Regions from separate parts of the Homo sapiens genome. Here regions 1, 3 and 4 are each linked to region 2. The links are contacts of gene promoters, found by promoter capture Hi-C in human tissues and cell types (Jung and others, 2019). All regions are on one chromosome and are shown on one strand. The core of a region is centred on a gene start or on the middle of the fragment in contact, and the rest is flanking DNA. Distances in the headings are between cores, read along the strand shown.

The links. The method cuts DNA at HindIII sites, captures the fragments that hold promoters and counts their contacts. A contact is called where the count stands out against the background at its distance.
Region 1: a fragment that was not itself captured here is called in contact with the fragment with the promoter of EFCAB13 in region 2 in 3 of the 25 tissues and cell types used here (heart left ventricle, mesenchymal stem cells and mesendoderm cells).
Region 3: a fragment that was not itself captured here is called in contact with the fragment with the promoter of EFCAB13 in region 2 in 1 of the 25 tissues and cell types used here (mesenchymal stem cells).
Region 4: a contact is called between a fragment that was not itself captured here and the fragment with the promoter of EFCAB13 in region 2, in 1 of the 25 tissues and cell types used here (dorsolateral prefrontal cortex).

What each region holds. Positions count from the first base shown.
Region 1 is chr17:47,163,392-47,166,091 of GRCh38, reverse strand. All of the region lies in intron 4 of CDC27 (cell division cycle 27), which reads left to right. Among named protein-coding and RNA genes, the nearest start is that of CDC27, 25 kb to the left of the region's middle. The HindIII fragment of the contact is 5,468 bases long and covers 1-2,700 here.
Region 2 is chr17:47,322,673-47,325,372 of GRCh38, reverse strand. It overlaps EFCAB13 (EF-hand calcium binding domain 13), which reads right to left and starts at 1,418. Exons shown (of 25, transcript NM_152347.5): 1 at 1,299-1,418; 2 at 850-919. It overlaps EFCAB13-DT (EFCAB13 divergent transcript), which reads left to right and starts at 1,472. Exons shown (of 3, transcript NR_110880.1): 1 at 1,472-1,684. RefSeq lists enhancers at 630-809, 850-939 and a silencer at 1,280-1,689. The HindIII fragment of the contact is 8,264 bases long and covers 1-2,700 here.
Region 3 is chr17:47,133,688-47,136,387 of GRCh38, reverse strand. All of the region lies in intron 14 of CDC27 (cell division cycle 27), which reads left to right. It also overlaps the pseudogene LOC112268192. Among named protein-coding and RNA genes, the nearest start is that of CDC27, 54 kb to the left of the region's middle. RefSeq lists an enhancer at 1-458. The HindIII fragment of the contact is 3,309 bases long and covers 1-2,700 here.
Region 4 is chr17:47,077,954-47,080,653 of GRCh38, reverse strand. All of the region lies in intron 1 of LOC101927060 (a long non-coding RNA gene), which reads left to right. Among named protein-coding and RNA genes, the nearest start is that of RPRML, 100 kb to the right of the region's middle. The HindIII fragment of the contact is 6,830 bases long and covers 1-2,700 here.

The DNA of each region.
Region 1 (2,700 bases), core at 191-2,690, 160 kb after region 2:
ATTAGGAAATCAGATGTATCAGTGATATATAAAAATAATACTATTTCTCAGAAAATTGAAACTAGAATTACTATTTGAGCCAGTAATTCCACTTGTGGGAACATACACAAAATAATTAAAAACAGGATCTTGGATGGTCAGTTGACTTTTGAAGAAGGTGAAAAACAATTTAATGGAGGAATGATATCCTTTTTAGCAAATAATGGTGCCAGTGCAATTGGATATCCATAGGCAGAGAAATGAGCATTGACTTAAACCCCATACCTTATTAAAAATTTAACTCAAATGAATCATGGATCTAAATGTAAAACATAAAACTATTAAACTTTTAGAAAAAAATCTTTATGAGCTAGGGTTAGGCAAAGACTTCTTAAACATAACACCCAAATGACAGTACATAAAATAAAAAGTTGATAAATTTTATCAAAATTAAAACTCTTTGCTTGGCAAAAGACATTAATGAAAATACACACAAGTCACAGCCTGGGAGAAAATATTTGCAAATCCCATAAACAACACAGATTGTATCTAGACTATATAAAGAACTCTCTCAGTAATAAAAGAAAAATCAGTTCAATTAGAAAATAAGTAAAACAATTGAATGGACATTTCACCAAAGAGAGTATATGGATGGTAAATAAGCAGGTGAAAAGATGTTCTAAATCGTTAGCCATTAAGGAAAGTGATTAAAAACCACCATTAGATACAATGGCTAAAAATAAAAACTACTGACAATACCAAGTGCTGGTGAGAGGATGCAGTGCAGCAGGATTCCTCGTACACTGCTGGTGGGAATGTAAGGTGATATTTTACACAGGAGTTCATAGCAACTTTATTCATAAAAGCCCAAAACTGGAAACAACCCAAAATTCAGTAAGTAAATAGATAAACTAGTCCATATGATGGACTACTTAGCAATAAAGAGAAACAAACTACTATATTGATATGTATAGTAACTTAGATAGATTACAAGGTTATTATGGCAAGTGAAAAAAGCCAATTTCAGAAGTTTCTATAATTCCATTTATATAACATTAATCTGACAGAATTATAGTGAAGGAGAACAGATCAGTGGTTCTCAGGTTGGGTTAGGGTGAGGATGTAACTATTTAGGGGTTTCTTTGGGATATTAAAACAGTTTTATATCCTGATTGTAGTAGTGGTTATAGAAATTTGTAAATGTGATAATATTCTCTATATAAACGTGTAAAAACTGCTAAAATTCAAATAAGCTCTGTGGTTTAGTTTACAGTTGTTGTTGTTGTTGTTGTTTGAAATGGAATCTTGCGCTCTGTCGCTCAGGCTGGAGTACAGTTGCACAATCTCAGCTCACTGCAGTCTCCACCTCCCAGGTTCAAGCAGTTCTCGTGCCTCAGCCTCCGGAGTAGCTGGGATTACATGTGAGCGCCACCATGCCCAGCTAATTTTTGTATTTTTAGTAGAGACGGGGTTTCACCATATTGGCCAGGCTGGTCTCAAATTCCCAACCTCACATGATCCACCTGCCTCGGCCTCCCGAAGTGCTGGGATTACAGTCATGAGCCACCGTGTCCAGCGTAGTTTACAGTTTTGTACTAATGTCAATTTCCTAGTTTTGATAACTGTACTATGGTTATGTCAGATATTATTGGGGGAAGCTGGGTGTAGGGTACATGGGAACTGTGTACTGTTTTTGCAAGTTCTATGTAAGTCTAAAATTATTCCAAAGTAAAGTTTAAAAAAATTAAGTTAAAATCACAAATATGTTATACAGTCATGTGTCACTTTATGATGGGGATTTGTTCTGAGAAATGTGTCCTTAGGTGATTTTGTCATTTGTGAACATCATAAAGTGCATATGCACAAACCTAGATGGTGTAGCCTACTACACACCTAGGCTATATTGTATAACCTATTGCTCCTGGGCCACAAACCTGTACAGCATGTTACCTTACTGAATACTGTAGGCAGTTATAACAGTATGGTAAATATTTGTGTATCTAAACAAAGAAAAGATACAGTAGAAATATGGCATTATAATCTTATGGGGGCCAGGCAGGGTGGCTCACACCTATAATCCCAGCATTTTGGGAGGCCGAGGCGGGCAGATCACCTGAGGTCAAGAGTTCGAGACTAGCCTGGCCAACACGGTGAAACCCCACCTCAACTAAAAATACAAAAATCAGCTGGGCGTGGTGACACGAGCCTGTAATCCAGCTACTGGGGAGGCTGAAACAGGAGAATCACTTGAATCCAGGAGGCAGAGGTTGCAGTGAGCTGAGATCGTGCCATTGTACTCCAGCCTGGGCAGCAAGAGTGAAACTCCATCTCAAAAAAAGCAAAAGAAACAAATAATCTTATGAGACTATTGTCATACATGTGATCTGTTGTAACAGAATGTCATGTGGCACTGAACTATTCAGATAAAATCATTAAAGTTTTTTTAAAGATGCAGTTAAATCAGTTCCTCAGAAAGGTATGTGTGTGTATGTATACATATATGTAAACAAGGAAGTTCTTTTTTCTCCTTCTTCAGAGGAATATGGATGGGTTCTTTTATATTTTTTTGGTTTTGGTAGATATGGGGTCTCCCTATGTTGCCCAGGCTGGTCTTAAGCTCCTGGGCTCAAGCAGTCCTGGCACCTCAGCCTCCCAAAGTGCTGGGATTACAGGCATGAGCCACAGCACCCAGCCAAGGGTTATTTTTATTCATCATCAAGA
Region 2 (2,700 bases), core at 169-2,668:
GGGTTCCTGAATGCCAAGTGAAGAAAGTACTTCAAGAGTGAGCAATCAGGCTGTGCATGGTGGCTTATGCAGGTAATCCCAACACTTTGATGCGGGGGTGGGGGTCTAAGCAGGAGGGCTGCTTAAGGCCAGGAGTTCAAGACCAGCCTGGGCAACAGTGAAACTCCCACCTCTACAGAATTTTTTTTTTAATCAGCTGGACATGGCGACCTTAGTCCCAGCTACTCCAAAGACTGAGCCAGGAGGATCTTTTGAGCCCAGGAGTTTGAAGCTGCAGTGGGCTATGATTGCACCACTGCACTCCAGCCTGGACGACAGAGACCTTGTCTCAAAAAAAAAAAAGGGGGGTGGGGTGGGCGGTTAAGATCAGTACTGAATGGTTCGCTAGGTTTCACAACACGGAGGACACTGACAAACTTGAAAGGAGCCATCTGGGTGGGGTGGTAAGGAGACAATGTCGTCAGAGTGAGTACAAGAGAGAACGGGGTAAAGAAATTGAACCCAGCCAGTAGGGTAGGCTCTTTCAAGGAGTTACGTTGTTAAGAGAAATAAGGCAGTAGCTGAGAGGAAAATGGGGCTGTGAGGCTTTAAGATGAGAAAAACAAAGGCGTCTTCACTGAAGCATGACTCTGTATGACATCCTTTCACAAAATACCTTCCTCTTTCCTCTCATGCCACATTTCCCTCACAAGCCGCCCGACTCGCTCGCTTTTCTCTCGCCAGAGGGACTGAAAACGTCATTAATACCAACTGCATACACAACTCCATTGCAGCTACTGCCATTCATGAACGTTCAAACTTTCGTCACCCTGTTTTCATATTTGTGTAACAAACGTCGAGTGAACGAACCTCCACCTCTTCCAAGAACCCACGCTGAGGAGGCTTCCCATAGACCCTGCTCTTACGAAGCCAACGACTTCTACAGGAAGAAAGAGGACCTGTAAGCTAGCGAGTGAACGACCCGCAAGATGGAAATGAGTGTGCTAATAGAGGTCTCCGCCTCCCGCTGAAGGAGCAGGGAAGTGACACCACCCCCGGGACCGCCAGCCTTCTACAACAACCACCATTTCTGAGGAACCACCTGATCAGTCTCAGTCACCCTTCAATCTGCCCCTTTGTCCCACTCAGTCCCCTCACTGTTCCTTTCTGGAACCTTCCTTCACCCAGCCCCACCACTGTTCTCCTTCCTCCCTCGCACCCTACTGCATTCTCCACCCTCCACCTCGAAGGCTCCCCTCCCAACTCCTCAGCGGGTCTCGCCTCCCCTCCCCACCTCTGTCCCCCAAGGGTCCCACTACCGGCCCGAGCTGCCCTCCCTTCCTCTCGGCTGGAGGCCCCCGCGCTCTCTGTGGTCAGCCCCTGCCGCCCCTCGGGCGGCGCTGCTCTAGCTCTGCAGCCTTCCCAGGATCCCGCGCCGCGCGGCCCCGCCCCCGCGGTCACCTGACCGAGCCCGACGCTCCGCCCACCGACCACCCCGAGCGGAGCGGGCCCAGGACCCTATCGGCTGTCGAGCCGGTGCTGCCGCGGCCACCGCCACCGCCCAGGGGCTCCGGGGCTGTGGGGAGCGGCTGAACTCAATACCGCCTCCGCGCTGACTGGAAGGCACTGCGGCCGCGCCTGCCTGCCCCACCTCGTAAGGGCCTGTGACCTCACGAGGCCAGCCGCCGGGCGCTGCATTCGAGCGGTGGGGCTCCTGTCCGTGCGCTTTCCTCCCGCAGCCCCGGCCGGGATTCCGCCCTCCGTCCTTGCCACCCGCTCGCCACTCTTCCCTAATCGCTGTTCATTCTCCGGTGCGCTGTCCCGCCATGGTCTGACCCCACTTCAATCTTACCTTCGGTCCGTCCTTTGAACACCCCGACCCCCGACCCCTTTCTTCCAAAACATTCCATCCTTCTTGGCTTCTGCTACTCAATAATGGACAGCAGCTCGAAGGCCATGTGTCCCACGGCTTTGCTGAAATTTGTCTCGGGTTGCCTTTAAGGAGACTGTCGTTTCCTTTTGAAAGAGATACTTTGGTTGGTTTGGTTTTCTTCTGTGTGTTTGTTTTTCCTATGTATTTATCGTATGCAGTTGGGCAAAATACTTAACGCTCCCTGAGTCTCGATTTTCTCATTCTTCCAGGGTTGTGGGAATTCAAAAATATATACGTAGTGCTCAATAAATGTTACAATATTTAATCCCTTCCGTGATACTACTGTGTTCATTTACATCTTAAACCTTGCTTTGTAGGCATTCTTTAATATTTTATTTAGATTTTTATTATTATTAAATATATGTACAAATCATAATTGTAAATATTTAATGGGGTACAATGTTATATTTTAATATATGTATACAATATGGAACGACTAAGTCAAGCTTAACATATCCATCACCTTGTTTAACGTTTTTTATGGTGAGACATTTGAAATTTACTCTTAGCAGTTTTGAGATATACGATATATTATTATTAGCTATAGTCACCACACTATGCAATAGATCTCAGAAACTTGCTGCTTTTGTCTGACTGAACCTTGTACCCTTTGAACAGCATCTCCCCATCCTGCATCTCCTACCCGCCCCGTCCCTTTCCAGCCTCTAACAACTATTCTACTGTCTACTTCTATGAGTTTGACTTTTTAAGATTCCACATATAAGTGAGATCATGTGGTATGTGTCTTTCTGTGCCTGGCTTTTTTCACTTAGTATGTCCTCCAAGTT
Region 3 (2,700 bases), core at 102-2,601, 190 kb after region 2:
ATTTGCTTCTAAATCTGAAGCATTATATTACTAAAACATTTTTTGATTTGTGAATATGTTGTTAATGGATTATGTCTCATTTTGCAGTAGTAGTTACATTGCCTGAAAGATGGCCAAAAAAATAGTGCTAGCTTTTGCTGACCAATGTAACAATCAACTTGCCAATGCTGCTGTCTCTTCCGATAGCTATGTTCTCTGTAATATTTTAAGAACTCAGTTTTTTTTTTGTTTGTTTGTTTGTTTTTTGAGGCAGAGTCTCGCTCTGTCACCCAGGTTGGAGTGCAGTGGCGCCATCTTGGCTCACTGTATGCTCCGCCTCCCAGGTTCACGCCATTCTCCTGCCTCAGCCTCCCGAGTAGCTGGGACTACAGGTGCCTGCCACCATGCCCGGCTAATTTTTTTTGTATTTTTAGTAGAGACGGGATTTCACCATGTTAGCCAGGATGGTCTCAATCTCCTGACCTCATGATCCACCCACTTTGGCCTCCCAGTGCTGGGATTACAGGCATGAGCCACCATACCCGGCCAGGAACTCAGTTCTTAATAAGACTTGTGTTGTTTTTGATTTTTTCCCAAGTCTGGTTGATCCTTGTGTTGTTTTTTTTTTAAATGTGTATTGTCTGTTCAGCTATTTTGCAGGAGTTGCATTCTTAAAAAACTTAACCATATCAAAAATTGTGTTTAAAGGAGGATTATTCAGATTGGCAAGCTTTTACTAGGAGGAGTTTAAATGCTGACGTATTTAGGTAACTAAATACTGAGCAACTTTATTCTAAGTACAAAATAGATAGCCTTTCTTTTGTTTTCACTTTCACTATCATTAGCATAGTGTTTAATACCTTTTCTTCATCTATAACACAAGTATAATGATATATAAAGCCACTCAAATAAAGCAGATATGTTGTGCTTTTTTCTTATTCATTTGATGCTTATTCCCCATCATCATCATCATCATCATCATCATCATCATCATCATCATCTAGTTATGGCCATGAGAAGTCTCCGTAATATAAACCATCCACACTATATTCATTTGACATTTTGAAAATTCAGGAGAAATACCTGCATATTAACCTAATACACTATTACATAGCCTTTAGAAATTGTAATTTTGAGGTCTATAAGTATAGGAGCATGCTTTTGATAACAGTAAGTGGGGGACAAGGAAGCCAAACATGACACTATGTATGCTATAATTATAATAATATAAAACAGAAATGTGGGAATAGCATTGTTAGGAGTTCAGCCTTTAGAATCATTAAGGAAGAACCTGGTTAGAATCTTTATTAGCTGTATAACTTTAAGCAAGTTATTTAACTTCTCTAAGTTTCAGTTTCCTTATTCGAAATAAGGATGATAATGGTACCTATGATTCCTCTAGGGATTAAATGAGATAATTTAGCAATGGTCTTGGCACACATGTAATAACTACTCAGTAAAAATTAGCTGTTAAATCTAGAATATGACAGGTATGGTGGCTCATACCTATAAGCCCAGCACTTTAGGAAGCTGAAGCTGGAAGATTACTTGAGACCAGGAGTTTGAGACCAGCCTGGTCAACATAGCAAGACCCCTTCCCTAACAAAAAAAAAAAAAAAAAAAGAAAACAATTAAGGCCGGGCACGGTGGCTCACGCCTGTAATCCCAGCACTTTGGGAGGCTGAGATGGGCGAATCATGAGGTCAAGAGATCAAGACCATCCTGGCCAACATGGTGAAACCCCGCCTCTACTAAAAATACAAAAATTAGCTGGGTGTGGTGATGCGTGCCTGTAGTCCCAGCTGCTTGGGAGACTGAGGCAGGAAAACCACTTGAACCTGGGAGGTGGAGGTTGTGCCACTGCACTCCAGCATGGCAACAGAGTGAGACTCCATCTCAAAAACAAAACAAAACAAAACAAAACAAAAAAAAAACAATTAGGCATGGTGGTGTATGCCTGTAGTCCTAACTACTCAGGAGGCTGAGGTGGGAGGATTGCGTGAGCCTAAGAGTTCAAGGTTACCTGCAGTGAGCTATGATCACGCCATTGCACTCCAGCCCGGGCGACAGAGCAAGACGTTGAATTAAAAAAAAAAAAAAAATCTATATGGGTTTAGGGGTGTGGTTTCTTTTTTCCTTATTATCATAGTTTGATTTGATTTGATTTGATTGTTTTTGCTTGTAAAAGTGACTCTTTAAAATGTTTTAATGGTCTGGGCATGGTGGCTCATGCCTGTAATCCTAGCGTTTGGGAGGCCAAGGTGGGAGGATTGTTTGAGGCTAAGAGTTTGAAACCAGCTTGGTCAACATAGTGAGACCTCGTCTCCACAAAAAATTAAAAATATGTTAATATAAGAAGGCTGGGGGTGGTAGCTCACACCTGCAATCCCGGCACTTTGGTAGGCTGGGACAAGCAGATCACTTAAGGCCAGGAGTTCAAGACCAGCCTGGCCAACATGGGGAAACCTCGTCTCTACTAAAAATACAAGAAAATTAGCTGGGCGTGGTGACACATGCCTGTAATCCCAGCTACTTGGGAGGCTGAGGCACGAAAATCGCTTGAACCCAGGAGGCAGAGGTTGCAGTGAGCTGAGATTGCACCACTGCACTCCAACCTGGGTGACAAAAAGCAAGACTGTCTCAAAAAAGAAAAAAAATATATGTAGGCCAGGTGTGGTGGCTCATGCCTGTAATCCCACCACTTTGGGAGGCCGAGGCCGA
Region 4 (2,700 bases), core at 129-2,628, 240 kb after region 2:
ATATAGTGGTTTAATTTGTTTAAGAACCTGATGGGATCACACGTGGTGGCTCACTCTGGTAATCCCAGCACTTTGGGAGGCCAAGGCAGGAGGATCATTTGAGCTCAGGAGTTCGAGACCAGCCTGGGCAACATAGTGAGACCTTGTGTTTACAAAAAATACAAAAATTAGCTGAGCATGATGGCACGTGCCTGTAGTCCCAGCTACTGAGGAGGCTGAAGTGGGAGGATCACTTGAGCCCATGAAGTGGAGGTTGCAGTGAGCCAAGATTGTGCCACCACACTCCAGCCTGGGCAACTAAGACCTTGTCTCATTAAAAGGAAAACACTATTAGAATATAATGGTTAATTGAACGTGTATTTAGAACAAAACAGTGTGGGTATCTGAGTTAACAGGAAACAAGAAAAATGCTGTATAATGCAAGCAAGCCATTGATGTAACTGTCATATTTGTTAGATTTATGGAAAAGTGCCTACTATGTCTCAGCAGCGTTCTCCATAGTAGGGTCACAATAGTGAACAAAAATCCTACCTTCATGAAGCTTACATTCTTGCAAAGTATTTTTTATATTAGCTTGGTATGGCTGAGCTCTATCTTTATCTAGACCCATGTCTAGAAAAAGTCTGTGGCTACTAAAAATAAGGGTCAAAATGCCTTTTTGACCTTAGTACTAGTCAAAGCCTTAAGAAAATGGCTTTCCTGTGAACAGTATCCGTTAAATTAGTAGGCCAAAAGTTAACGGTTGATCAACTGATAAAATGAACAGAATGATCAGGGTTTGAAGTGAAAGTTCTGTGGGCTGTCTAATCATTTAAACTTTTATTCCAAAAATTTCACTGGAGACTTCTACCTTCTTTCCAGATTGGAGATACATATATATATATATATATATATATATATATATATATATATATATATATATATATATATTTTCCAAACATTTGATAGAGCTACTTTAATTGAGGACACAGTTTTTATTATTAATTTATTCCCTTAGGGTAGTGTAAAAATTAAATCCTGATTTACTTATTTAAAAATTAGCTAAATCCTGATTTACTTATTTAAAAATTAGCTAGAACAAAACTAATAAACATTCTAGATTTGGTCAATATTTTGCTTTCTCAACTCTTCACAAAGGAAATTTTAAAGTGAGATTTGTAGAACTTGAACTGGATTGGTGACTAAGAATAACTAGGAGGTGACTGGATATGCCTGTACTGAGGAGAAAAACACAGTCTTTCTCTATCAGAGACACCTCTTCGGTGTCTGTTTCTAGGTTTTTATAGCCAGTAGTTAAGTGGGAATTTCTATATTTGAGAACTAGAGTCTCTTAGTAACAACTGAGATTAGTACAATAGTAGTCATAAGTGTTGCTTCATCTTTTTATATACATTCATAAATATATATATGTAAGTTTATATATGTGTATATGTTATGTTATTTTAGTTGCCTGTTATAAAACTGCCACACTTCATAGAACTTAAGATGCTATTGATTGTAAGATGTACCATTATTTTAAGTACAACAAAGAAATTATTTCCATTAAACTAGGGCATAACAGCAATTGTAAGATGCATCTTGTTTTAAAAGTTGTTGACGTGGGGAAAGTACCTCTTAGAACTGAAGAAATACTGTGTATCAATTCTCAGGAAACTTTGAAATTACACAGAAGTATAAAAGACACACCCTCCCCCCGCCCCCCCAAAACAAAACAAAACAAAACCAACAGCTCAAAATTATCTCGCTACCCACATTATGGTACATTTTCCTAGCACATGAATAATTTGTTTAAACACAGTCATGTTATATATGTGCCCTGAATATTTCCCAGTTGGTTTTTGGAAAACATTTTTAATGGCTGCCTGCTATTGGCTTTCCTCGTTGACTATTTAAGTTACGTTTATTATTAAAATTAAGTATGCCATGATAAACATCTTTATCTTAGTCAAAGGTATGAATGCTCTTTTATGTTCTTAATGCATACTTTAGAGAAGTATTTTGGTCGTGTCAGTTTATAGTCTCACTAGCTGTGTATAAGAAGATACCTCATTTGGTTCATGCTTTATTCTTCAGCTCATCACTCAGAAGTAATGACAGAGCAGTTTTCAGAAACTTTCAAAATATCTGAAAAGTATTTCTAAATATCTGGAAAATAATCTGGAGTTTTGTGTATACCGTCACACATTGCTTAACGAAAGGGAAACCGATAAATGTGTTGTTAGGTGATTTCATTGGTGTGTGAATGTCATAGAGTGTACTTAAATACAAGCTGAGGGTTGGGCGTGGTGGCACACGCCTATAATCTCAGCACTTTGGGAGGCCGAGGCATGGGAGGGCAAGGTGGGTGAATCACCTGAGGCCAGGAGTTCGAGACTAGCCTGGCCAACATGGTGAAACCCCATCTCTACTAAAAATACAAAAAAAAATTAGCCAGGTGTGGTGGCGAGTGCCTATAACCCCACCTACTTGGTAGGCTGAGACAGGAGAATCACTTGAACCCGGGAGATGGAGGCTGCAGTCAGCCAAGATCGTGACACTGTACTCCAGCCTGGGCAAGGGCAGAGCGAGACTGTCTCAAATACATACATATTTACATACATATAAGCTGAGGTGGTATGGCCTACTATACACTTAGAGAACATGGTATAGCCTATTGCTCCTAGGCTATAAACAAGTACATCATGCTACTATACTGAATGG